Regions from separate parts of the Homo sapiens genome. Here region 2 is linked to region 1. The links are contacts of gene promoters, found by promoter capture Hi-C in blood cells and fetal thymus (Javierre and others, 2016). All regions are on one chromosome and are shown on one strand. The core of a region is centred on a gene start or on the middle of the fragment in contact, and the rest is flanking DNA. Distances in the headings are between cores, read along the strand shown. Region 1 holds the start of TMEM68 (transmembrane protein 68). Region 2 has its middle 4.5 kb from the start of UBXN2B.

Region 1 (7,125 bases), core at 1,250-3,749:
TGTTTCCTAGTTAATCCATCTCTTCTTGTCTTTAAAAAGTGCTGGAATTCCTCAAAGGTGGGTCCCCCTCCCCCACCCTTCATTCATGGGTTCAATCACTATCTAAGGCTAAATGGCTCAAGTTTTTAAAACTAGCCCAGACTTCTCCAGCGCTCCAAATCAATATATCTAACTGCTTATACCATCTACTCTTGGTTATCTCATAGATACCCCCAAATCAAAATGTATAAAATCAAACTCATAATCTCTTCTCCGTTGACCCAAAATAAAATTCATGATTCTCCAGTGATCCCTACCTCAGTGAAAGGCAGCAATACAATTCAGTCCCCACCCCCAGCAAGTTTTCTCCCATCTTTCTTTCTTTCTCCATTTCTGCTGCCATTTATCCTAATCCAAGTCACTATAATCTCTTGCCTAAACAATGGTCTTAAGTGGTTCTCTTCCTCCAAACAATCCTCCACACTGCCGCCTGAGTAGTATTTTAAATATGCAAATCTGATCATGTCATTCCCCAGCTTAAGGTTTTCCTATAGTCTACAAAGTCCTGCGGGTTTTGACCCTGCCTACTGTGCACACCCTATCTTCTTTCTTTCCCAGTTTTTTTTCTTTTCTTTCTTTTCTTTTCTTTTTTTTTTTCGGGACAGAGTCTTGCTCTGTCATCCAGGCACGACAATGGCTAACTGCAGCCTGGATCTCCTGGGCTCAAGAGAGCATCTGGCCCAAGCCTCCAGAGTAGCTGGGACTACAAGCATGTGCCACCACAGCTGGCTAATTTTAAAAAAAAATTTCAGTACAGATGAGGTGTTGTTATGTTGCCCAGGCTAGTCTCCAACTTCCGGGCTCAAGTGATCCTCACTCCTCGGCCTCCTAAAGTGGTGGGATTACAGGTGTGCACCACCGTGCCCTCCCTCCCAGCCATTTTGTTCAGTTTCCCAGGCTTTCTTTTGCTCCCTCAAGGCCTTTACTGAGTTCAGCCTGCAGAGAACGCTTTCTCCCACTGAAACTCACCCCAATTTATCCCCCTTAGACCTCTTTCCAAAAGCTACTTCCTCAAAGAAACCTCTGTGACCCTTGGAAAGTTATTTGTTTTCACAGCATCCTGCACTTCTCTCTCATAGCACTTATAACTATAATCAACCAAGTAATAATGTAACCAGTTATCTTAATATTGATCTTCTCTGCTAGGAAGTAAACTCAATACATGTAAGGACAGAATGTCTTGTACCTCAGTGCCTACCAGCATACTTGATATACAAGAGCACAAAAAACATTTTCTGAATGATTGTATGACTACATGCATGCCTGACTAAAAAGGCGACAATACTTTTTACATTAAATTTAACAAGTTTAACTTCTTTTTGCGTTTTCAAATTACTCCACAAAATTACACGAGAAAAATGAATTCCTTCAAACTTAAATCCTACTATATTAAACTATATTAAAAGTCTATCACATAAAATTCACTTCCACAAGGATTTAACTCTAACAAAATAAGCATGTGAGATTAAATATACCCGTTATAGAGATGAAAAAAAGGTTCAAGTGGTTTAACTCACGCATTTAATATAAAGGAAACAATTCCTAGAATTCAAGTCTCTTGGCGGTATTATTCCTGCATACTAGCTATTTTTCATGTGGGGCAATTTTTACCTGATTCAAAGATTTCCCCAAAATAAAGATATCACAAAAACTGATGTAAATATGGTTAAGTCTTTTATCTCAACTAGTTTGAAGTTTTAATTATGTGCATTTGGGCTTAAGTAGATTTTTAGGTTTAAAAAAAGACGTTAACCAAAGCAAGTCACTCAACTTTAAACTTTCACTTTATGACATCATATCTACTAGAGATTTCATTTTACATGTCGCTTTCCCCCAATTTTTAAATGTCCCCTCGATTTACAAATATGAGATGACATATAGCACCTACGACATTTTTTCATAGCAGCCTACCAAGTAGATGTAGTCCTTCACATAAAAATAATGGCAGTGGGCGACCACTCCGTCATGTCTGAGGGTTTTGTTTTTCTTAAACATCACCGTGCCCAAGGGTCAGATGTTCTGGCTGCTTTCAGGGATCAATTACAACCACGTTTGCAATACCTACATTTCTGGGTAATGACTGTGCTAGAACATGAAGAGATTCTCTTTTCTACTTACTCCACAAATGCCCTGGAGCAAAGGCACAGTATCTTACAATCCTCCCGCTCCTCAATGAAGAGAAACATTTCCGCCACGCGGCTCCACTTCTCGCAGCACATTTTACCACTTCGGAGGCAGCTCTGACGTACGCAGCCCGGGTCGCGCCTGCCGGGCCTCCGCTCGGTTACTGGAGACTTAAAACAGGCCTCGCCCGCAAGCCCTGGATGAGGAGATAGAAACTGGCCCGCGGCCGCTCGCGCCGGGAACTAGCCCGGACGCTGCCGCCGGAAGTGGCTCCGAGGGGCCACGGGAAGGGGCGGGACCACGGGCGGTGTCACCCCCATCGCGGCCCGGGCTGCAGCCGCCGCTTGGCTTCTTTCACACGGGTTGCTTCGGAGGAATCCGCCGTGCAAATCTGTCCGCCCCCTTGGCCACTGATCCCCCGAAGAGCTTCTGTCGCCGCTCTAGGGTAAAGGAGAGCTGCCCCTGCCCCTGCCCCCGCCTATCCGAGGTGCGTCGGCCCCCGCGCTTCTCCAGCCCGGCATCGGGTCTGGCGGGACTGGGAGCGGCGGAGGCCGCGCGCGTCCGGTCTCCCAGGAGCCGCCTCGGAATCCCCAGTCTCTTCGCGGGCAGGCTCGGCTTCCCGCCGGCCTCAGTGTTGCGCCCCAGCGCCAGAGTGGCCGGGTGTGGAGATCCTCCCTCCTCTGGGTCAAAGAGCCTGCTCTCCCCGCCCCTCTTCTCCCCTGGCGCTCTAAACCTTCGGTTCGGCGCGTTTCATCCTAATGCATCTGGTGGGGCGAGGCGTCTCTAGCCTCTGTAGAGGCCTCTAGGCTTGCCCAGTGGCTTCGCTGGTTCCGGGACCCAGGTCGAGCCTCCGGTGTAAAAGCCAAGGGGAAGTGTGTGGTGATCCCGAGAGTGTAGGGGGAAAGCCGCGTGGGTAGAGCGTTCGTATCCAGACCGATCAGGCTTGGAATCCTGGTCCTACCTTGTGACCTGGGCAGGCAACTTCACCTTTCTGAGCTTACCTTTGATCACCTGTGAAATGGGGTTGATTAATAGTAACTACTACATGAGGCTGCAGGGAGGACTAAACGAAATGATGTATATTACACCTTTCCTTTGTGCGCTTAATCGTTGGCGTCGGTTTGGACCTTGTAGGCGTTAAGTGCTGTCTCGGTCCCTGGGGTTTGCAGCCTGTAAAACAGGTCTCTGCCTTCAAGTTACTAATTATCTAATAAGAAAAAAGTTCATGTGGGCATAAATAGGATGGAGAAAATGGAAACAGCAGCGTTGCTGGATCTGTTAAAAAGCAGTTAGTATTTGGTGTGTGGTATTCATGGAGGCTGCACGGGCAACTTCTTCAGAGACAAGCTCAGACTTGAAAGTTGGAGCGCTTCGGACGTGGTTGGTGCTACGAAATGCCAAAATAGTATTGGTACTTCTTCAGAACTATATAAAAACTGAGCTAAAATTCATGCATTTTGAATGGTATTTTCAATAGTATTTTGGCCACATTTACTAGTTAGTGGAAATATTCATTTTCAAATGTTTATTCCCACCTCCTTACTGCTGCCCTACTTTGAGGTCGGAGATAGGCTGATTTTGTTGGTTCAAGAAGGTAAGAGTGCTGCACGGTTACAGATATACCAGTATAGATGTGCAGCATTATTGGGATGAGTAGCTGGGTTACGATAATAAGGGTAGAACAGTAATTATGAAACAGAGTGGAAGATTTTAGCTAGAAGTTGGGCATTCTAGGATTAAAGAAAAGTCTTGAAGGGTAATTTGTATCAGAACCTCGAGTTTAAAGCTTGAAATAAAAAAAGTATTAAAGCTAAAAGGATTAGATTTACCAGCTATCTTGACAAATACTAAATTGCAGCTTTATTCATGGTTTGAAGTAGAAGTCCTATTCAGTAAAACAGTGCTGTATCTCTGTTAAACCATTATTAAATATGCAGAAAGGAAACAGGAAAACTTGTTTTTCAGTGACTATATCTTTTAATTGGCATTTTCAGAATGTTCTCAATGTGACTTATATACTAAAAGTAAAATGGAAAAGTACTGGTAATGGGTGTTCAAAATAGATATACTTTATTTATTTATTTATTTATTTTTTTTGAGACAGGATCTTGCTCTGTCACCCAGGCTGTAGTGTAGTGGCGCGATCGCGGCTCACAGCAACCTCTACCTCCCAGGCTCAAGCAATCCTCCTACCTCAGCCCCCCGAGTAGCTGGGGCTACAGGCATGCCACCATGCCTGCCTAATTTTGTGTGTGTGTGTGTGTGTGTGTGTTTTGTAGAGACAAGGTTTTGCCATATTGCCCAGACTGGTCTTGAATTCTTGGGTTCAAGTGATTTGCCTGCCTCAGCCTCCCAAAGTGTTAGGATTATAGGCATGAGCCACTGAGCCCAGCCTAAAATAGATACACTTTCTTAAGGTTTTATTGAAAGCCAAAAAGTTCTCTGTTCTGATTTATTAGTTTTTGAAATACTCTGATTTTAAACATCTGTAAGGTCCATATCCTCACCATCAATGTCAATATGGTGATATTTGAGCTTGTCAACTTTTTTTTTTTTTTGGAGACGGAGATTCATTTTTGTTGCCTAGGCTGGAGTGCAATGGTGCGATCTTGGCTCACCGCAACTTCCGCCTCCTGGGTTCAAGCGATTTTCTGCCTCAGCCTCCTGAGTAGCTGGGTTTACAGGCATGCGCCACCACACCTGGATAATTTTGTATTTTTTGTAGAAACAGGGTTTCTCCACATTGGTCAGGCTGGTCTCGAACTCCCGACCTCAGGTGATCCTCCTGCCGCTGCTTCGCAAAGTGCTGGGATTACAGGCATGAGCCACCGCGCGTGGCCTTGTCTACTTGTTTTTACAAAAGTTACGTGATTTCCAGATAGGGAAATTAAGATACTTTATATGTGATGCATTAGACTGTGTTTATTTTAGATTTTTAGGAGCAGGGGGCTGTAGAAAATAACCTGGAATTTTGAGAACTAAAATATTGTATTTCCCCCAAAACATCTTCTAGTACATAGAGTTCCCCCCTGCCCCCGAGACAGGGTCTTGCTCAGTTGCCCAGGCTGGAGTATAGTGGTGTGATCATTATAGCTTACTGCAGTCTTCACTCCACGGGCTCAAGCAGTCCTCCTGCCTTGGCCTTCCAAGTAGCTGCAACTTACAGGAACGTGCCACCATGCCTGGCGAACCTTTTTTTGGTAGAGACAAGGTCTCAGTATGTTGCCCCCAGGCTGGTCTCAAACTCCTGAACTCAAGCAGTCCTTCCACCTTGGCCTCGAAAACTGTTGGAATCACAGGCGTGAGCCACCCTGGCCCATGTCATTTTTCTTGGATTAAAATAAAGTGATAAGAAGTCAGTTACACCCCCAGGTAAATTCAGGGGGAAGGGGAAGGGCCAGGCAGAAGTATAGGGAAGACAGAAATTGCAATCTTAATATTTTCTTTCTGTCAAGAGAGAAAAAGAGAGATATATCAAAGAAAGTGTGTTGGAAGCCAGACCAGGAGGTAAGATGACTAGATTTTAATTTTAGTTCTTGGCTTTTACTGAATTAATTTAGTAATTTTAAGCAAGCAAACTTGGCTTTCTGTGTTTACTTTTTTTGTTATCTGCACAATTAAGGGGTTGCATTGAGATTTAAAGACACTTTGTCATATTATCAAAAGTAAGTGCTACATTTTATCTACTGAAAGGCATTTTATTCAAATTCCTCTGATAGTTCTCTAGTAGCAGGTTTTAGGATACTGTTTTGATCCAGATTTCTGTTAAAGATTTAGATGAGGCCAAGCAGGGTGGCTCACGCCTGCAATCCGAGCACTTTGGAAGGTGGAGGCGGGCGGATCACTTGAGGCCAGGAGTTCCAGACAAGCCTGGCCAACATGGCAAAACCCCATCTCTACTAAAAATACAAAAATTAGCTGGGTGCAGTGGTGCTTGCCTGTAGTCCCAGCTACACGGGAGGCTGAGGTATGAGAACTGCTTGAGCCTGGGAGGTGGAGGTTGCAGTGAGCTGAAATCGAGCCACTGCAGTCCAGCCTGGGTGACAGAGTGAGACTCTGTCTCAAAAAAAAAAAGTTTTAGACGAACACAGTTCAGTTGTATATTTAGCCAGCATTTGTTAGGTGCCTACTATGTGCCAGAAAGTAAGTGTTTTTCGTATGTTTTCTTAGATAACTATTTTATTTACTGATATATTTAGAATAGTATCTGGCACAAACTTCTCAGGGCCATCCACTTGTACATTGTATCCTGTCCCCTTTGGCCTAGTCAAGGACAGAGCTCTAACAATTATCTCCTCTCCTACATCATCTGTTTCTCACTCCCATTGATGAATTATCGTTGACATTGAACATGGGTGTATTTTCTCCTATCTTTTTTTTTTTTTTTTTTTGAGATGGGATTCTCATTCTGTCCCTGAGGCTGGAGTGCACTGTCAGAATCTCGGCTTATATAACCTCTGCCTCCCGGGTTCAAGCAATTCTAGTGCCTCAGCCTCCCAAGTAGCTGAGACTACAGGTATGCACCATGATGCCTGGCTAATTTTTGTGTTTTTAGTAGAGACGGCATTACCATGTTGGCCAGGCTGGTCTCAAACTCCTGACCTGAAGTGATCCACCCGCCTTGGCCTCCCAAAGTGCTGGGATTACAGGCATGAACCACTGTGCCTGGCCCTTTTTTTTTTTTTTTTTTTTTTTAAAGACAGAGTCTCTTGCTCTTTCACTGAGGCTGGAGTGCAGTGGCTTGATCATTACTCACTGCAGCTTCTACCTCCCAGGCTCAAGTGATCCTCCCCCTTCAGCCTCCCAAGTGGCTGGGATCATTGGTACATGTCACCATGCCCGGCTAATTTTTAATTTTTTTTTCTTTTTGAGCAGAGTCTCACTCTGTTGTCCAGGCTGGAGTGCAGTGGCATGATCTCGGCTCACTGCACTCTCCACCTCCTGGGTTCAAGCCATTCTTGT
Region 2 (6,407 bases), core at 3,783-6,282, 2.6 Mb before region 1:
AAGAAATAGTCCCAGTCATTATGAAACTCAGTCTAGTAGGGAAAAGAGACATGTAAACGGGTAAGATGCAGCTTGCAGTAGAGCTTTGCTTGGGAGGGTTACAAAGGAAATGTGAGCCATGTGAGGGGAAATACTCCGTTGGTATCTGCTGTGTGCACCATGCTAGGTGCTGGAGTCGACAGCTTGCCGCCCGAGCTTTGGCATACTGATCGTTTTGATGTATAAAGGCATTTGAGGCTGGGCGTCGTGGCTGACGCCTGTAATCCCAACTCTTTGGGAGGCCGAGGCAGACGGATCACTTGAGGTCAGGAGTTTCAGACCAGCCTGGCCAACGTGGTGAAATCCTGTCTCTACTAAAAATACAAAAATTAGCTGGGCGTGGTGGCGCGTGCCTGTAGTCCCAGCTACTTGGGAGGCTGAGACAGGTGAATTGCTTGAACCCGGGAAGCAGAGGTTGCAGTGAGCAGAGATGCACCATTGCACTTCAGCCTGGGTGTCACAGAGAGACTCCGTCTTAAAAACAAAAAACAAAAAACAAAAAAAAGCATTTGATAAACAGCAGGTGCAAGAAGAGCACTCTGACCTTTTCTTCCTGAAAGCAGGAAAAGAAACTACCATGTGATAGATGCCCTCCCTATACCAAGAGGAAAGATACTCATCACCAGAGAAGGGGAGTTGAGGCCGAGAAACATCTGTACAGATATTGTTAAACTAACCAGTATCTTCCTAGATACTCTTCCACGATTGCCTCTCTTTGTTCAACCTAGTATATAAGCACTTAGGCCTAGCCACTTCTTCGGGTGTTTATTTTCCTGTGAGGACACCCACTTATACGTAAAGTTTTATTAAATAAAATTTGTATGCTTTTTCCCTGTTAATCTGTTTTGTGTCCGTTTAATTCTTGGACCCAGCTGGAGACTCTGAGAGAGTAAAGGAGAAAATTTTCTCCCCCAGCTGTGCATTCCCTGTGTAATTTCATTTATCCCTCTACCAGGTAGTTATGATTATCTTGTTATACCCGAGGAAACCAGATGATGAAGACTAACTTCACCCTGTAGTAAATGGCAGTGCCAAATACTAAACTGCACTTGTTTTCCTGATACTCTCTTAACATCAGATTCTGCCCTAGAAATCTCGGGCTCTTTAACAAGAAATGCCTCATAGAGCCAAAGACATTTTAGCTGAGTGTTGAAGGAAAGTACTTCCAGTAGAAGTATTAGACCAGAAAGAATCTTGGTAAAGGCAAAGATATTTACAAAGACACTGATATTTAAAATATTATATTCATGTCAGCAAATTGCTATATGGTTGCAACTTAGAAATGACAAAAGATGGTTATGGAATGGTGGGGAGGAGACAGATGTAGAATGGAGGCTTGAGACAGATTCTGAAGGATCTTGCCTTAGGTTGGGGATGGAATCCTCTGAGCCAGTGATTCTCTAACATTCTTGTACATTAGAATCACCTCTTCTCTCTCGTCTCCAGGTACTCAGATTTATTAATAATTGGTATAGAGTGGGAGTCAGGCATCATATTTCTTAAGATGTTCGCAAAGTGGATTTTGCTGCTGGCCATGACAGTATACCTGATGTTGGACTTGTCCTCCCACTCTTAACAACTAAAAACAACAGTTTTAAGGCATTGAGCAACAGGCAGTACAGGTCTGTGATATCTGAAAGAAGGAAAACGAACAAGGTGACTATATTTGCCCAGGCTCTTTATTTTTATTTATTTATTTTTTGAGATAGGGTTTCTCTCTGTTGTCCAGGCTGGAGTACAGTGGTGCAATCACGCCTCACTGCAGCCTCAATCTGTCTAGTTAGAGCAATCCTCCCACCTCAGCCTCCCGAGTAGCTGTTGCCTTGGCTTTCTGCATGGAACTCTCATACACTGCTAGTGGGTCCTAGAATGGTACAGCCACTTTGGAAAAGAGGTTGTCAGTTTCTTCTAATGTTAAATATTCCATTATCATAAGAACCAGCAATTCTACTCTTAAATATTGACCCAAGAGGGATATAAGTATACATTTATAAAGTATTTCAACTCAAATGTTCATAGAAGCTTTATCTGTAATAGCCTGTAAACTGGAAACAATCCAAATGTCCATCAGCCAATGAATGGATACAATTTTGATAAATCATACAATGGAATACTACTCAATAGTAAAAAGGAAGAAGTTATGGATTCACATGTCTTGAATGAATCTCAAAGATATTATCTTGGGTAAAAAAAGCCAGGTGCGAAAGAGTAAATATTGTCTGATTTAATTTATATGAAATTTTAGAACAGGCAACACCTTTAATGACTAAAAGCTGGTGGTAGCTTGGGGCTGTCTTTTGGAGTAAGGATTCAGTTCCCCAATTGTAGGACATGTAGGAACTTTTTGAGGTGACAGAAGTGTTTTATAACTTGATTGTGGTGGTAGTTACACAGGTATGTATTAATACGTTTGTTAAAAGCACACTGTATACACTTAAAATGCATGCATTTTATTATATGTAAATTATTCATTTATAAACTTGATTGAACAAAATCCTTGCTCAGCTGATTCTGTTGTGCAGCTATGTTTGAGAGACACTGCTCTAAGGCAACTGGGAGCCATTAAAGGATTTGTGATTTACAAAGATTACAGATGCATCAATGTGTATGATGAGTCAAAGTTAGGAAATAGATTATTACAACAATGGGAAGTAATTAGGACTCAATTTTTATCAGTGGCAGTGAGAACAGAAAGAAGCAATACTTGGTAGAAATATTAACGTCAGAACCGACAGGAGCTGGAGTCTTCAATGTGGAATACATGAAAAAAAGAGGAATAAAAAATGACATCTGGGGATTTGGCTAGGTGATTTGGCAAATGGTGCTACCCGTAAATTATTGAGTTGAAAGGGGGAAACAAATTTCAAAGGAAATAAACAAGTTTGTTATGGACATTTTGAGTTCAAAATGTATGTGGAACACTCTGGTGAAAATGCATCATGGAGCAATTGCAAATGTGGGTATAAAGATTAGAAGATTAGGCAAGAATTTTGGTTTGGACATACAGATTTGGGTGTTGACTGCATGTAAATGATAGAGTAGACAAGGCTTCGCAGGAGCAGTGTGAAATGTGAGAAGATTCGAGGATTAAGAACACTCACAAACACCAACATTGAAGAACTCAGTGGAAAAAGGAAAGCTTTCAATGTAGCCCTGAGTAATAGAGAGGTGAGAGGAACACAAGAGACTGGAAAAACTGGTGATGAGGCAGTTTCAACAGGCATACCAATGATGTCATTTACTACAGATAATCAAGAAAGATTAAGACTAAAAAGTATCCACTGGACTAAAGGAACAGGAGATGCTGTCCCAAAAGTTACTACCAATTTCATAGTTAGTGAGGAAAATCCATATTTTACTAGTTTCAGAGTGACAGATAGGATAGTGAAGGCTACATATTCAATGAACTTAATGTCAATGGTGTGCAGAAGTTGCCGTGCACTGGCTTATGAGAGCCTACTGTTAAATTTTTAGGAATTTTGCAAGGCAGTTGTTAAACAGGGATTATTAAAAATTAAATGATATAAATGTACAACTAAATTATACAAAAAACTCATGCAATAAATATTCAAATCTCTAATTTCCTAGTTATTTGAATACATTTTGCTATTATCTATGCTCCTGAGGGGATTTACATCTATTGGATCTATATGGTGGAGATGCTATTGCACACCTCTTCCCAATTCGCATTCAGTGACAACATGTTAGTAGCTTGAAATCTACCATGGTGTAAGTATTCCCACCTCAGAAATTGGTAAACGCCATAAATAAAAGTTCGATTTCTTGTTTTGTTGATTGCCCACTGGAGATTTAAGGATCTGTTGGAGAAAATGTTTACGAGGCAGATAAGACTTAAAAGTATGCTGTGCCTGCAGCTGTTATGCTGTGAATAGCAAAAGAAAAAAAATGTAAATTTTCCTCTAGTATTTGAAAATTACTAGCTGATTCCGGAAGAAGTTGCTCACGTTGTTGAGTTACTATGGGTGTTTGTGTTTCACTTGCATCTTATGTGTATCTTGTTAATGTGAACAAAAATATCAACAAACATTCAAGTGGTCGCCTTGAAGTCTCCTTTCTTTTGGCTTGTGATGAAAGTGATATCTTTCCCCATTCTTCTTCAAAGAACTACGACCACATACCTCACTCTCCTTGATTCTCTATTTTCTGTTCTCAAAGTGGGTGAGGAGGTTCAAGAATCATGACATTCATCGTCTTTGAAACATTCTCCAGGAGCATCTTTCTCACACCCATTTTGACCTATCATATATATTATGGGGTCCTTAAACTGGAAACTTAATGTTAAACATTTTATTATACTTATTTTCTCCTTCCATTAGACTAAGCTCATGGAGTATGTGGGCCAGGACTTCATCTCTAGTGCCTTAACACAGAACCTGGAACCATAATATGTACTTTTAATAACTATTTGCATGAGTGAGTGAATGAAGGTGGTAGGGATCCTGTATTGGTCTGTTCTTGTGCTGCTATAAAGAAATATCCGAGACTGGATAATTTATAAAGAAAAGGGGCTAAATGGCTCATTGTTCTGCAGGCTATAGAGGTAGCAGAACAGCTTCTGCTTGGCTTCTAGAGGCCTCAGGAAAGTTATAATCATGGCAGAAGGCAAAGGGGAAGAGAAGCAGGTACATCTTACATGTCTGGAGCAGGAGGAAGTGTGGGGAGGTGCCACACACTTTTAAACAAACAGATCTTGTGAGAACTCTATCACAAGAACAGCACTGGGGGGATAGTGCTAAACCATTAGAAGCAGCCCCTGTTATCCAATCACCTCCCACCAGGGCCCACCTCTAGCACAGGAGATTACATTTCAACCTGAGATTTGGGTGGGGGCACAGATCCAAACCATATCAGATCCATAACTCAAACCACATTTGACTATCTCCAAAGCCCATTTTCCATTCATGGAAAGTCAAGAAATAAGAAGATCTATCAACAGATATCTTCATTAGATACAGACAGGACAGACAGTATAAAATGCAGGCCTATTTATATTGCACTTCTAAACCAAATCCAGCTCCAACTTCACAACCTAAATGAAACTCACGTTTGTGTAATTTTACATATGCTGGACATCACTGAGAACAAGATCAGAGGTCACTGTAATATATAATGGCCTTGTTCCATCCTTTAAAACATTTTTATCTCATTCTAAAAATAGAAATAGAATATTTACAGTTGGTAATTTTCATGGATTGCACATTATTTCATGTAATCTACAACAACTTTCTGGGATAGGTATTGTCTCCATCTTACAGAAGTAGTTGAGGATCAGAGAAATAAGATGAATTTCCTTATGTCACTCAGCTATTAAGTAGCAGAACTAAATTTTAAATTCAGGTCCATTACACTCAAAAGCATATGTTTTTTTTTTTGTTTGTGTTTTTGGTTAAAAAATACCATCTCCGTGTCTCCTGGGAGCTTTTTGCAGCCTCTGACTCTTGTGATTTTACCTTTCCTGAAATTTCCTCATGATACTGCTTAACATTGGTCTTCTTACCTACCTGACCATTCCTTTTGAGCTTCTCCTAACATTTTATCTTCTATCCACCCTCTAAATAATGATGTTCTTTAGGGCTCTGCCTTTGCCACTCTTATTTGCTCACTGTGTATATGCTTTCGCTGTTCAATATCTTCTGTTCTCATACCTACTATTTACACACAGTCAATTCTCATTATTTACAGTAGTTATGTTCCTTAAAGCCATTGAGAACACTGAGTTATTGAATACTGAATCATTGCTGCTAGGGAAAATACAGGGTAGGTTCCTGTGAACTTCTTACATTTTCATCAACTGATCAATGCATAACCTTGTTTTATGTCTATTTCTGTTGAAGACCCCATGTTTAATATGATCATTGATCCACTCACATTGAACTCACAGCCACCAGCACTATAACTCCTGCATGAAGGAAGTTTATCTAGCACATGCATTTTCTCCATAAGGACATCACAGCCTCTTGTACTTAGGAACACCAGACAGTACTTCAGCACTACCCTTGGGGGCCATCTCAAACAGCAAAATCACCAACAAAAAGCACAAACATGTGAAAAACATGGCACTAAATAGAATGTGCAAGGACACTTATTTAAAGTATAAAAGCTGAAATAAAAAGGCAGAATGTCACCTTGTTTGAGCTCAGCTGGGAATGTGCTCATGGGGCAACAGAAATATTTTGCTCCTTTGTGTCTGGGTTTGATCACAAAGCACTGCATGTATTTGGTTTGGGGGTCACAAATACATTTTGTGAGTAGGTGAATATGCAAATATGGAATCTGCGAATAACTAGAATGGACTGTATCTAAGACTCCCAAATCTCTTTTTCCAATACCCAGGTCCCTCTCTTACC

The links. Contacts are between HindIII fragments. The CHiCAGO score rates a contact against its expected background, and 5 or more counts as called.
Region 2: a fragment that was not itself captured here is called in contact with the fragment with the promoter of TMEM68 in region 1 in 1 of 17 cell types (non-activated CD4 T cells); the score reaches 5.7 in non-activated CD4 T cells.

What each region holds. Positions count from the first base shown.
Region 1 is chr8:55,768,752-55,775,876 of GRCh38, reverse strand. It overlaps TMEM68 (transmembrane protein 68), which reads left to right and starts at 2,499. Exons shown (of 8, transcript NM_001286657.2): 1 at 2,499-2,608. It overlaps TGS1 (trimethylguanosine synthase 1), which reads right to left and starts at 2,431. Exons shown (of 13, transcript NM_024831.8): 1 at 2,158-2,431. The coding sequence starts at 2,258. RefSeq lists enhancers at 1,993-2,322, 3,094-3,597 and silencers at 2,463-2,652, 2,743-2,872. The HindIII fragment of the contact is 10,724 bases long and covers 1-3,951 here.
Region 2 is chr8:58,403,688-58,410,094 of GRCh38, reverse strand. No RefSeq gene overlaps it. Among named protein-coding and RNA genes, the nearest start is that of UBXN2B, 4.5 kb to the left of the region's middle. The HindIII fragment of the contact is 3,704 bases long and covers 3,181-6,407 here.